3 separate regions of the Homo sapiens genome follow, and all the other regions are linked to region 2. Evidence: promoter capture Hi-C in 16 types of primary human blood cells and fetal thymus (Javierre and others, 2016). All regions are on one chromosome and are shown on one strand. Each heading gives the region's core, a stretch centred on a gene start or on the middle of the fragment in contact. The rest is flanking DNA. Distances are from core to core; before and after follow the strand shown. Region 1 has its middle 13 kb from the start of LNMICC. Region 2 holds the start of PMP2 (peripheral myelin protein 2). Region 3 overlaps LNMICC (lncRNA associated with lymph node metastasis in cervical cancer).

Region 1 (4,822 bases), core at 2,312-4,811, 150 kb before region 2:
GTGCTGTTTGAATTTCATGTCAATAGGGCATAAAGACACATATTAAAATAAGAAATAAGGCACCACACCAGAATGAGACAACATAATGTGAATGAAGGCAGTAAGTTCAAAGGATAATTGTATATTAGAGTATTTGCCAAGGGGAGAGTTGCATTTTCTCTATCATGTCTCTTATTTCATTATACCAGAGCCTGTATACCTGCAGTGATTCTTTTAGGACTTAAGACAAACACTTTATTTATTCTAAGAACAAATTGATACACAACTTATATATCACATATAAGAAGTCAGTTGTCTCTTATTGTATTAGTGTTGATCAGTTAGCTGATGAGGTCTTTAAATCCTACCCCAATGCCAGCATGTCTGGGATGGATGTCTTGATTGATTGATTCATTCATTCATTCAATTTAGCAAACATGTGTCGAGCCCCTACGATGTGCCAGTTATTATATAGTGCTAAGGGCTGGGCCTACACAATTGAATAAAGTAAAAGCTCTTACCTTCATAGAGCTTAGAGTCTGGAGGGAGAGAGAGACAATAAACAAAAATTGAAATAATAATTATAGATAGATTTAATTGCCATGAGGGGACTAAACATGAAGACTAATAGCAGGAACCAATAGTGGATAGGTTAGGGAAGGCCTCTCTTGGGGGAAGAAATTTAAGTTGAAACCTGAAGGCAGAAAAGGAGCCTCCAGGGGAGGAGGAACAAGGAAAAGCCTCTCCAGCATGATCGACAAGGGCAAATGGCCGGAGGTGGACATAACTTGGTGTGGAGCCAGGCAGAACACCTGAGAGAGGGAAGGACTGCACTGGAGACGGTGGGCATTGGCTGTGTCCTGCAAGGCCCTCGAGTCAGGAAAGCACAGGGATTTCATCTAAGTCTATTGGGAAGTCACCAGACGGTTTAGTGCCAGACAGAGCCATGGTGAAGGGCAGACATTCATATCCCAATCCCTTGAGCCAGATATAATTTGGAATTCAGAATTAATTTTGCATTTTAGAAAGTTAATATAGTGTGTGTATGTATTATATCCACATATTAACCCATATATTATATAATTTTGCCAGAGATGCCTGGGACAATACCATTTAATCAAACATATTAATGTATCTGTAGTGAAATCGTGTGACTACTCACACTAAGTGAGGTGAAGAAAGACTGTACGTGGCCCGCCCATCAGTTCACCTCAGGTTTTGCTGCCAGATGAGTTCAAATCCCATGAGGTTTTGCCACCAACTAAGTTATAAAAGAAAAACAAATCAGTTTTTGGAGCTTTTTGTATTTTGGGGTTGGTGGATAAGAGATTGTAGATTTATAATTATCCCGCTTTTTTTGCAATTATTATGAACAACATTTATTAATACATCAATTCAAGAAATATTTTTGAAGGCCTGTGTATCATGTAGTGTTCTGAATGTCTGGAAGTGTATTAAACATGAAAATAATTCATATTTTCTTTAATTTTTTCATTTTAAATGACAAAATTGTACATATTTATGGTGTTCAACACAATGTTTTGGTATATTTAGCCATTGTTCCTGATACTCACATTTGCTTTTCATAATTAAGGAGATTTATCTGCCTATGATAAAGCATTTGTTGTATTGAATGTGGAGAAAATATTGCACATAAAACCAATAGTATATTTTGAATAATTTCTGCTCCAAATAATGATTTGTAATACTGTTTTTACAGTAGTGCCAGATACTGAGGCGAAAACTTTACATGAATAATTCCATTAAATTCTAAAAGATGAGATAGATACAAACTCAACACCAAAAAAAATCCAATTAAAAATGGGTAAATTGCTTAATAGATATACATCCTTCAACATGGATGAGTTTGGAGGACATTATATTAAGTGAAATAAGGCAGGCGACAGAGAGACAAATGCCACATGTTATCACTCATACATGAGAGCTAAAAAAGTTGAACTCTTAGAAACATAGAGTTAGAATAGTGGTTATTAGAGGCCGGGTAGGGTCGTGGGAAGCAGGATTAGGGAAAGGTTAGTTAATGGATACAAAATTAGAGCTAGATAGGAGGATAGTTCCAGTGTTCTATGGCACTGTAGAGTGACTATAATTAATAATTTATTATATATTTTCAAATAGCTAGAAGGGAAGATTTTGAATTTCCATATGCTAATTACCCTGATTTCATAATTCACATTATATACACATATCAAAATAGTAGACTGTACCTCATAAATATGTATAATTAAGTGTCAATTAAAAATAATAGTAAAAGCCAAAATATGAGGCAGATACAAATATTATTTCCATTTTACAAATCAAAAAACAGAAGCTGAACAGCAATTTGAAGAGGCCTCTGGAGCTTCACATGGAGGGAGTCAGGCATGCTTGGGAGTTACCCTCCAATTCCAACCTGATGCCCAGGGTGGCAAACAACCAGTGACTGTCAAGTGTAGGAGTGTGAAAGCTCAGGTCCCTTGCATCAGATGAGGACATCTGATATATAACTGAGATATAACTGACCCTCCAGAGTTGCTCCCTGGATCAGGCTAAAGCCCGCCCTCTGTAGAACATGGTCTGAGATCATATCCTGCCTCAGTTTCCTCCTCTTCCCACTCCTACTTCCCCTCTCTCACGCCTTTACAGATCTTTCCCTAACACTTCCCTTAACAAATCACTTGCATGCAAATTCTTGCTCTGGCTTTGCTTCTGGGGAACTCACTCAGAACAGCCCTGCTGAGCCCTGGAAATTCCTGACCCTCCAAAACCTTGGGACATAATAAAATGATTGTTGTTTAAGCCTCGTTTTGGGGTGATTTGTTCTGTAGCAATAGGTAGACAGAACTCCCTGCAACACCACCATAAGTGTATGCAGCAGGGATCCCTCCAGTCCTTACTCAAAGGACTCCAGGGCTCAATTCATCCTGACCAGATTGACATATTCCACAAAGGAGCTTTCCCTTCTTCTGCAGGTCCCCAGCCAACACTGCTGTCTGGGGGCCCACAGAGTGTTTCATCTGTTGATATAACATCACCTTGAGACCCATTCTATGGTGAATGAAGTGTGGCAAAGAGTCCATGATGAGGAAAGTTGCTGTTCCTACCACAAACCACCACTTTCAGACGATTCTAGCCTGATGGAGCATGGAACGGTCTGTTGAAGGCAAACCCAAGACTGGGGTACTGTCCTTCAGGATGTGGTAAGCAGCATGAAGCAGCAGCTATTACATATGGTGCTGCTTTGTTTTTAAAAATTGCAGATTTGCTTGTGAAAGGCTTAATTAATAGTCATGGTGGCTGGGAGCGGTGGCTCACACCTGTAATCCCAGCACTTGGGGAGAAAGCCAAGGTGGGTGGATCACTTGAGGTCAGGAGCTCAAGACCAGCCTGGCCAACATGGTGAAACCCCAACTTTACTAAAAAAAAAACAACAACAAAAAACAAAAACTTATCCAGGCATGGTGGCGGACGCCTGTAGTTCCAGCTACTTGGGAGGCTGAGGCAGGAGAATTGCTTGAACCTGGGAGGCGGAGGTTGCAGTGAGCGGAGATCATGCCACTGCATGCTAGCCTGGGCAATAGAGTGAGACTCCGTCTCAAAATAAATAAATAAATAAATAAATAAAAATAAAATTTGTGTGGATTGTTTTCAGTCTTTTGCTCTTATAGATAACCAAAGTTCAGGCTACTTTTCATTCAATTTATAGAGACTCTAGAGTCTAAGTACAAATGGGAATCCAATGGGAGCGATCTACAGGCTCAGGAACCAGAGGCAGGAATAGGAGTGACCTTGCTCACCATGACTCCCAGTGACCTGCTTGTCCCTTTGAATACGTTTTTATGGTTTATCCCCCTGGCTTTGGTGTACTTTCAGCAGCCAGCAGCTAAGGCTCTTTGTGGGAAATCTGTCCTTGGACTACTAGAGCCCTTTTTCCCACACATGCAGAAGGCTGAAAGTGACTGAGAGTTTGTGTTCTTCTTTCTCTGCCAGGGCTGCCTGGTGCAGTGTGGGAATATGAAACCCAGCTCCCTTGCTGAAGATGGGACAACACCAAGGCTGAACTCACACTTGAATTCACCCACAGGATGGGGCTGAGCCTGAGATCTCATCCTTCATGGCTTCCTCTCCTTCCTTCTGTTTCAGAGGAATCTGACCTAACTCACTTGTTTAGAGTTACAAACAAAATAAATGGTGAGGTCAGGACCTAGGATTGCTGTATTGAGCAAATAAAAATACAGGACTCTTGCATTTTATCTAGCAATAAAAATAAAATAAAAAATACAGGATGTCCTGCATCTTATGTCTGGCAACCTTAGTCAGGATACTAATCCAAGTCTGTCTAATTCCAATACCCATGCTGGTTTTTAAAAAAAATTAATAAATCATTTTGAGTCTGTAAATAACTTCAGTGTCACATTACAAAATACAAAAATACAGTAGTAAAATTGTCAGCCTTCCTACTACCCCTGTCCCCAGCCACTCGTCTCCTTTTTAGAGGCAATCATGGTAACCTTTTTCTTATTTATCTTTCTAGCAATATTCTCTGTAAATCCAGGCATAATTATATATGCATCTCTGTACCTTGCTTTATTAATTTAACAACTCCTCTAAGGTAGGTCCTTATCAGACATATGGTGCTGTTTTGTTTTAGAAAATTGCAAATATACTTGGGAAAGGCTTAATTAATAGTCTTGTGGATTGTTTTCAGTCTTTTGCTCTTATAGATAACCAAAGTTCAGGCTATGTTGTTTTATTCAATTTAAAGAGACTCTAAAGTCTAAGTACAAATGGAGATCAAGAATTGAGCTGCTAAGTGCTGCTAACAGCATTGAGGAGAGATGTA
Region 2 (4,358 bases), core at 804-3,303:
GCTAATTTTTTGTATTTTTAGTAGAGACGGGGTTTCACCGTGTTAGCCAGGATGGTCTCGATCTCCTGACCTCGTGATCTGCCCTCCTCGGCCTTCCAAAGTGCTGGGATTACAGGCGTGAGCCACCGCGCCCGGCCAATGTCTGCAGATTTTCAAGAGTAAAAGTTTCCAGCTGAAATAGCTACTGCAAGTCATCCATTTTTATCACATCCAATCCTATTCCCCATTGAAAATTACTAATTATAGATTTGCATAAATCATTCTAGAGATTTTAGTTTGTATGTACAAATACTATAGATATATTTTAAAGATGAGACTATAGCATATACGTATTGTTCTATGATATTTTCCCTCAATACCATATTATGGATATAGAGAAGTATTCCCCTCATATTTTTGATAGAATTTCACTTCTGAAATTTTGTGGCTTCTATATCTAGCTGGTAGGAAAAAAACTATCCATCTAACTTTGAGATCTATACTATTATAAATGATCATAGAGAAATAAAATATTTTTTAAAAAACTCTTCTACATTTCAAAAATGAAACAAAATTAGACTCTTAAGTTTATTACCATTATTACCAAGACTATAAAATATATGGAAAAGGGAAAATGTAAAATAAAAAATATATGAAAGAAAAACTAATTTTCCAGGAAGTCTCAATGGTTGAATAACTTTTTCCAGTTAAAAAGATCTCAAACTTTTACATACTGAATAAGAAGTTAAGAGTTACAGCCAATAAACTATAAACTATATTCTTTCTTCAAATTCTGATTAATCTTTTGTTATTTTATACAGTTTAGGACAATGTTTCTCAAGTTAAATCATAATCTCTGGGTCAGAGCCTGAGAATTTATATTTACCAAATCCCAAGGTGTTATTTTGCATGCTAAACTGGAAAACAGTGGAATTAGAAAATCCTTCACTGAGACTTTCTTTTATTTGGCTTCTTCCTCAGCTGTAAAGTGAAGTCTTTAAATCTAACCGATCTCACAGTATGAATTGATCCCCATAAGTTCTCTTACTGTTCCAGGCAACAATGACATGACTTTGCTCATTTTATCTAAAATAGAACATTTTATACAGGCTTTCTGAACAGTTAAGTAAAGCTGTAGGCACTTTGACAAGCACAGCAAACTCGGGTCACTGGCATCACTCTTTATTGTATTTATATAGTTCTGAAAATTCCCAAAGACTCTTCATATCTATTGTGTTTATATCGATGGGACATACTCTAGAAATAGTATAAAATAAAGTTGTTGTAACTAATGACTCGGTTTTCCATCTTCACTCACTGCTCCAACTCCAGAAACGTCTGATGTTAGCGAAATTGAGTTTGAATTCACTGCCATAACTCCAGTTCTTTTTCTCTCAGTAACTTCCCTAGACTATGAACACAGTATTTTAGGAAGTATTTTTGTTTTTCAAACTCTCTGTATCTACATGATTGTGTAATAAAGGACAACCTAGAGGTAGAGAGAAAAAACTGTTAGTTTAGCTAAAACTTAAATTTTTAAATTGAGATTTTCTAGGATTTGCAATATATTCAATTCCTTATTTTATGAACACTTCAGTTGCTATGAACGTAGCTCTCAGAAAAGCCAGAAAATGGGTTGACCATGCTTTTAAGCTTTCTCTCCTCTGGACCTGCAACCAAAATTCTCTTGGTATGAAATTGCCCTTGAAATCAGTGGGCATTCCATGCATTTAAGCAGCTCTCTCATTTAAGTTAATTCTATTAAAAATTACCACAAATAAAATTCAAATAAATTATCTGAATGACACAACAAAAGATTAATCCTAAAAGAGGATTGTACTGCAGCCTTGCAAAACTCCCCAGTATCCTGTTAAAAGTAGTAGATGAAAATGTCATGTAGCTTTCTTAAAAAGGAGCTTTTCAGCAGAACAACAAAAAGCATTTCTTACCCAGAGCTTTCATGTAATCGTCAAAGTTCTCACTAGAGACAAGTTTCCAGGTGCCCAGGAATTTGTTGCTCATCGTGATGGGTGAGAGCTCAACACAGTTCTAAGTGGGATTCAGAAGACTCAGATAAAATGCTGAGGCCTCAGAAGATTCTTTTCAAGGATGCCCAAAGCGTGTGACTCTTACAGAGACCCAATGGGGAAAGGCAGTGTCGGGACTAAGCAATGAATGGCTCTTCAATGGCCAGCTGCCCGCCCAATAGGATAAAAGAAAACCCCACATAATACTTCCCTTTGTCTCCAAAAAAATTTATAAAATGAATGAGATTACTATTTGAATCTTCAAAAATTTTTTGATCAATCTTACATTTATAAGAAGGCTTAGGCCCTTCATGCTTTGGAAAAGACTGCATGAATTCTGTGATCATGAATGAATGTGTGTGTGTTTAGGCATGTCGGTCACTCTCAATCCTGAGTCTGCACAATTAAGAATTCTTATTGAAAGGGAAGAAAAAGAGGAAAATGTCTGTAAGTATTATGATAACAGTCTCAAATATGTTGTGGGAGAGAAACGTAGGGGAGCAGTGTGAGGAAGTATTCATAGGTAAGAAGGCTTGGCATAGTTCACATATCCCAGGCAGGCAGAGTAGGCAGACAAAGAAGTCAGTCTATTGCAGCAGAGCACAGAAATTGTATTCATGTGATGAAACAAGAAGTAGCACTATAACATGTTCTTTGAGCACAACAAAGATTTTCAGCTAGAAATACTTAAAGTCTGAACTAAGCAGGTTCCTGGATACTATAACTATTTGTGTTTAAGTCATTTAAAATGAATCTACAATTTTATAAAGAGGATTTTCTATAGAAAGAGTACTAATTTATATTGACAACTCACTATGGGCCAGACACTGTGCTAAGTGCTTAATACGGGTGATCTCATTTAATTATATCACTAATTCCAAGAGTTAGGAACTATTATTATATCCATTTTACCAATGATAAAAATGAGCTTGGGGACATTAGGTAAATTGCTCCCAAAAGTTGAATAAGGAGAGGACAGGTTTGAACCCAGCATTGCTGCCAGTGCCCGGGTTCTGAACCATGATCTTACCCTGCTTCTATTATACTATACCATACATGCTACGTGCACGGAGGCCCTGGCCAGAGATCACCTGATGCTGATAGCACCACGATTAGCTAGAAACACTCTCTCTCTTCTCAAAAATCAAGAGAGGTAAAAAATCAAAAGATCCAGCCTACTATATTACATCAAAGCCCCAGTCTTTGGCCAAGGGGAACAAACGTAAATCCACTTAGAACATAAGTGTTGCTCTTGAGAATCTCTGATTACTGCTATATCTTTCCTAGCAGGTTTTTTGTTTGTTTGTTTTTGTTGTTGTTTGTTTGTTGTTTGTTTTTACCTTAGCATTAATTCTGGCTGGAGACAACTGATATTACCAAGTTTTATACATTTAGTAAACAGGTTGGCACTGTTTACAACAACAAAAATATGATGAATTTGCTCATAACAGGTAGAATTACTAGCAAGAAGGGCTCAAGAAACCCAGTCGCATAGCTGTGACATAACTATTGCAGTTACATAGTTAGAGTTCAAGCTGAGTAAAACACGTGAAATCATATACAGTGGGCTGAAGTTTCATTTACAATCCCAGTGCCTGAATAGCTCAAGGTGGGAAAGAAATGGTGAATAGGAAAATTCCTCAGCTAACCAACTAACCCAATCCTAAACCCAAGAGAATGTAACTGGAGGGAGTACATTGTACTGGGATAGAAAAAACAACTGTGAAAGAAAAAGCTTTTGATTAGTGGATATGTTATTTTATTTTCCAAAACACTTTACAGAAATGATGATATCACTTGTACCTTCAAAACTTTTTTTTTTTTGTTAGCTGTACACTATTAAGGAGTACAGCATTCAACATTTAGGTTTTCTGCCTAAATAAATGAAGGACTCCCAAACCCTCACACTAGAGCTGAGACCTTGTATTCAGTGGGACTGCTACAAGAAAGCTGTGTGAATTTTAAGCTGACTCTGTGTTGCACATAGGAACAGCAGTGGAGTTTAAAACATAAACATTGAGCCATATATTTCCAAGAGAGAAAACTTATAACTTTGAAGCAATATTAGACCAAGAGAAAAATTTTCTACTTAAGGCTTATCAGCAATTGTACCTGACTGCTATTAATAGAACTGACCAGACAAGTTTGGACCGTGATGGGATTCTGAGGCCAATATATGGGCCAAAGGCACAGATCAAAGCAATGAGGGAAGACCCGGACTGAACTAGGCCTGAAACATTACATCACTCCTAGCTAAGAAAGTCATCAATGTCCTAACAAGAAAGAATGCATAGAACCACATTATAACTAGATGTATATATTTAGACTGAACTACATGTTTGTAAAATACAT
Region 3 (4,888 bases), core at 838-3,337, 170 kb before region 2:
GAGTAACTTTCATATGCTAAATACATTCAAAGGGACACCAGTAAATGGCATTCTTTCCTGTTTATAGAAGCTGGTCCTATTCTGTCTTGACACTTATATGATGTCCTGATAACATAGCTGCAGAAGTGATAATATTTTACAACATGCAACAAATAAAACTTGTCATATAGAACCATAGTCTTCTCCCCAGGAACCACGTACAGTTTCTACTGAAAGACAAGGGCATCAGAGTATGTGTGGCAAGAAATCATTCAGCTTTGCTTCTGAGACTCTTCTCTCAATTCTCAGAAAAGGAACTCAGCAGGATTTTCTGACCCTTACTGAACTAGCCGGGTGGTGACAATTCCAGTTTTGACTTGTATTCTGGAAATTTTTATTATGCAAGTTGTATATCTCAGTATGCATCACCACCTCAGGCATAGCCTGGTGTCCGTTTACTACCCGGTTTATAGCGATGAACTAACTCTAAAGCACAGGCAGAGCTGAGTAGTGACATGAGTTGCTTCATGATTTCTAACCCAGTATTTCTCAGACAAGATCTTTCTAGCTGAGCAAAGTTTACCTCAGTTAACTTTTTGACATTTGGCACATTAATTTTAAACAAGATATATTTATTTGGTACACTCACCTGGTTTCTGTTAAAGACTCGCTTAATATTATAAAGATAAAACAATGGCCTTGACCAATGCCATGGAGTTTTCCCTCTATGTTTTCTCCTAGTAGTTTTATGTTTTCTCCTAGTAGTTTCATGTTTTACATTTAAGTATTTAATCCATTTTTAGATGATTTTTGTATATGGTAAGAGATAAGGGCCTAATTTCATTCTTCTACATGTTGATCTCCAGTTTTCTCAATACCATTTATTAAAGAGACTGTTCTTTCCTCATTGTGTGTTCTTGGCACCTTTGTAAAAAAAAAAAAAAAAAAATTAAGTTGACTGCAGATGTGGTTTTCCCTGGGCTATTCTATCCCATTGGTTGATGCGTTTCTTTTTGTGCCAGCACCATGCTTTTTCAATTACTATAGCTTTGTAGTACATTTTTGAAATCAGGTAGTGTGATGCCTCCAGCCTTTGCTATTTGTTTTTCTTGGCTAATTGGGGTCCTTTGTGGTTCTATATGAATTTTAGAATTGTTTTCTCCATTTCTGTGAAGAATGACCTTGGAATTTTGGTAGGAATTGCATTGAATCTACAGATCACTTTGGGTGGTATGGACATTTTCACAATATTAGTTCCTCCAGTGCAAGAATACAGGATATCTTTCCATTTATTTGTGCCATTTTAAATTTCTTTTATCAATGTTTTACAGTTTTCAGCATATAGATTTTTTATCTCCTTGGTTAAATTTACTCCTAAGTATTTTATTTTTATACCTACATCATAACATCACATTTTACCCCATAAATATATACAATTATTATTTGTCAATAAAAAAATTAAAAGAATAAAATAAAAACATGATTGTGTAAATGGAAAACAACAAATGTAGACTTTAAATTAACCAGTGATGATCTAAAAACCTTTCATTTATTTCTTAAATAAAATAATGTGGTTTCTTAAGAAAAAAGGCATAATGAATTATGGGGAACCTGAGGGCTTCTGTTTACCTGATATTTCAAAGACCTTCAATTTTTTAAAATTTTCAATATGTGATGAACTAAAACAGAATCAATTTTTAATAAATGTTTGTGAAATTTAAAAAACCCACAATGGATGTAGTTTTTAGCTTGTATAGACTTAGATACCAGACTTCTTGAAGATAAGAACTAGATTCTATCCACATAATTACTAGGTGTTCTAAAAATATGGGGTGATTTGAGACAAAGGAATGTGTCTGGTATGGACATCTCTGCTGGCCATTCTTTTGTGAGCAAGCAAAGCTGTCCCTGCATGACATATTTGTATGATACCTGAGTAGGGTAATACTGAACATGGCGCTACCACATTTTTTCCCTCCTGCAAGGCACCTTCAGGTCTTACAATAGATGATGCTGTAGTACCATGTTAATGCCTTCCTTGAAATTTAGACTTTGGAGCTACCTGATAGGTGAGAATTAAATATAACAACTCTTCATCCTATTTGAAATAGTTGGAAGGAAGGAGGGCATTGCTCAAAATCATACCAGGACAACAAGCATAGCTCTGACTTGCCCCAGTCAAACCAGGATATGGTCATCCTATCTTGCACTCTGAAAAAAATCGTGTGTTCAGATAACCTACCAGGGCAGAAAGGCCATTAGGAGCTCCATCTCTGCTCTGATGGTGAAACTAGAATTAATGCTATCTGATGTGCTGGGCAGGGAGAAGGAGGTAAGGATGCAGGGCACATGATTATTTTTGTGTTATTTTAGGATTTGACCATCAGCTTAGGTCTTGTTCCTTCTTCCTGATGGCTAAACTCTGTCTACCATTCTCTTGCCAGGATCCAAATCCAGATCAGAAGAACCCATCAGAATCATGACAGTACCATCCCCTGGAATTCAAGCCTGACCTCCACAGCTCTAGCTGCCGTGTCCCACCCACAGAGCAGATCCTCTAGGTATTTTGTTGTCTTCAGATCCAGGTACATACACTTTAGGCCCAGCGTGTGGCAGTTATGAAATAAAGCAAATGTTTCAAAGACAAGTCAGACTTATTCCTCATTCAGATGGGTAAAACTATATTGAGTGTGAAGAAGAAAGGGCAGGGTAGGAAGAAAACCAGAGGAGAATTAAGAAGTGATTTCAATTTTTGAAGTCAATTTTATTGATTTCTTGACTGACTCAATAAAGGAGTGAAGTTGAATTGGTTGATATCTAAATAAAAATATCCATTCTAGGACAACAGATGTGTGTAGCTCAGGTGAGCTTTTAATCCAAAGTAAGAAGTAGGGATTTCAGACCCACATTCAGAATCCTGAGGCCATGGTAGTTTTGAGATCTCCTCTTTGTAGCCCTGAGTGTTGACAAGCCCAGCTTGGTGTTCAATATTTGGCAACTCAGTAGGATGTCTGAGACCCTGCAGAATTAACTATGTATTTCAAGGTTGTAAGATAGGAGACAAGATTTGAGATTTGTGGCACAAATATTTTTTATCCCACCTTCCAAAATAGGCTGGAAGTAAGATCACAGTTGCTCTTCTTAATGGTAACAACTACTTAGCCTCCCAGTTCCCGCATGAAATTACAATATTTAACCAATGTAGAAAACAGAATATACTTTACTGGAAACTTCCCCTACATACTGTTGAATCTGTATCTTTAAGTTTGGTCAATGCAGAAGTGAGCAGGTGAACAAAAAGTGTCCTGTGGTGTCTATGGGTGGGTGAACAAAAGGTACCCATCCTGCTGCTTGGGTCCTTCAGAGAAGTGCACAAAATCAGCTGCATGCTGGTTTTACAGCTCTGTGCATGACTCTGAGGAGTTATAGGGTAGCTCTTCCCACTGCCAAAGTAGGAGGACCAGAGATAGGATCAAGAAAGCATCTTCAGTCGGATTTAGGTAGGTTATTAAGTGCTGATGATTCTTCTTCAAAGCTAATCCAGAAAAATGGAAGCAGTGGGCCTGACTCACTGAGATAAATAGCTTAGAGGCAAGCAAATCCACGGTTTTGTAGATTTGACTTGAAAAAAATCATTAATTCTTATAGATAAATATCAAAATAGAGAAATGATCAAATGGTGTGAGAATCTAGGAATACTGCATGGGAGGTAGGAATGAAAAATAGAAAAGGGTAATCTACAAGAAAAGAATTTGGCCTCTTCCAGTGGGAACATATCATTTGGAGGTTTTTTATGTTTGAAATTTTTTAAGGACAGAGATGCTCATTATTAATGTGTCTGTGTGTTTGGGCTTGGCCAGCCTAAGATTTTGTATATAAGGAGGCTTAGGAGTAATAATGTGATTAGAAGCGGGCTTGAAGAGGTTGGGGTTGCTAAGGAATTTGTTTTGAAGTTGCATTGCCTGGTAAACATAGTGCTTTTACTAAGATTTTGTGTTTATTGGGGTGGCTTTGCTAGCATCCTCCCGCTCCATTTCAAGCTGTGCCCTTTGGAGTTGTGCTTTTAAACCTTTGAACACTGCTCATATGAGGTATAAAAGGGTTATCCCAAACTATGTGTATCTGTTGCCATGAGCTATTGACAAATGTAATATACAATAATACACATGTCTGGAAAGTAGGAAGATCTATATAAGTAAGGGAAATGTATGAATTTTATACTGAAAGCTTTTATTATAAAATGAGCCATTATGTCCTCTGCCTTATTTTGAAGCCATTCACTTTTTATTACTGTAACTTTTGCAATGCCTCATTTTCCCTCCAGCTATCCTCTAGTCCAGTTAACTCAGCAAGCACAAGTTTATGATGGATCATTTAAGGAGCTGGAAAATTTTAATGGTTAGCCGTGGCAGTTATGATGTGTAAGACTCTAACTGCTTTAAGTAAAAGGACAAAGTTCAAAATATAACTCCATCTTTATAAGTGCTTTAATTAAAACCAATCTTATTATGAAAAACAAACCAAAAAAACCTTGCATTGATGGATGGTAGCTATTTGCAATTTCTTGTTTTGGCTGGATGCATTGAAGGATTAAAAATTTAATATTTAAGGTGTGCCTTAAACTGCAAGGTTCCCTGATTTTATTCTCATCTAGGAATTTTTGCTGCTTTAGGTAGCTGACAACATGCAGATCCATACTCTATCTCTTAAGATTTTCTTTTGGAACTGATTCCAGGTGAAATTTTCTTAGGGAAGATGTGGCTAGAAGCTGGGTATGCAAAGCATGTCTATAGCAAGGAAAGCCAGATGAGTGAGGGTCAAAAATCTAGTTATAAAATTTAAGGGAGACACTAGGTTTAAATAAACATATTCTCCAACCTTAGTGATTAATTTTTTTCCTTTTTTGATC

What was found. Contacts are between HindIII fragments. The CHiCAGO score rates a contact against its expected background, and 5 or more counts as called.
Region 1: a contact is called between a fragment that was not itself captured here and the fragment with the promoter of PMP2 in region 2, in 2 of 17 cell types (M0 macrophages and M1 macrophages). The highest score is 5.7, in M0 macrophages.
Region 3: a fragment that was not itself captured here is called in contact with the fragment with the promoter of PMP2 in region 2 in 1 of 17 cell types (M2 macrophages); the score reaches 6.4 in M2 macrophages.

Annotation. Positions count from the first base shown.
Region 1 is chr8:81,291,676-81,296,497 of GRCh38, forward strand. No RefSeq gene overlaps it. Among named protein-coding and RNA genes, the nearest start is that of LNMICC, 13 kb to the left of the region's middle. The HindIII fragment of the contact is 9,479 bases long and covers 1-4,822 here.
Region 2 is chr8:81,445,386-81,449,743 of GRCh38, forward strand. It overlaps PMP2 (peripheral myelin protein 2), which reads right to left and starts at 2,054. Exons shown (of 4, transcript NM_002677.5): 1 at 1,929-2,054. The coding sequence starts at 2,001. The HindIII fragment of the contact is 2,109 bases long and covers 1,631-3,739 here.
Region 3 is chr8:81,272,680-81,277,567 of GRCh38, forward strand. It overlaps LNMICC (lncRNA associated with lymph node metastasis in cervical cancer), which reads right to left. Exons shown (of 2, transcript NR_186603.1): 2 at 2,720-4,888. Among named protein-coding and RNA genes, the nearest start is that of FABP5, 5.4 kb to the right of the region's middle. The HindIII fragment of the contact is 4,234 bases long and covers 1-4,204 here.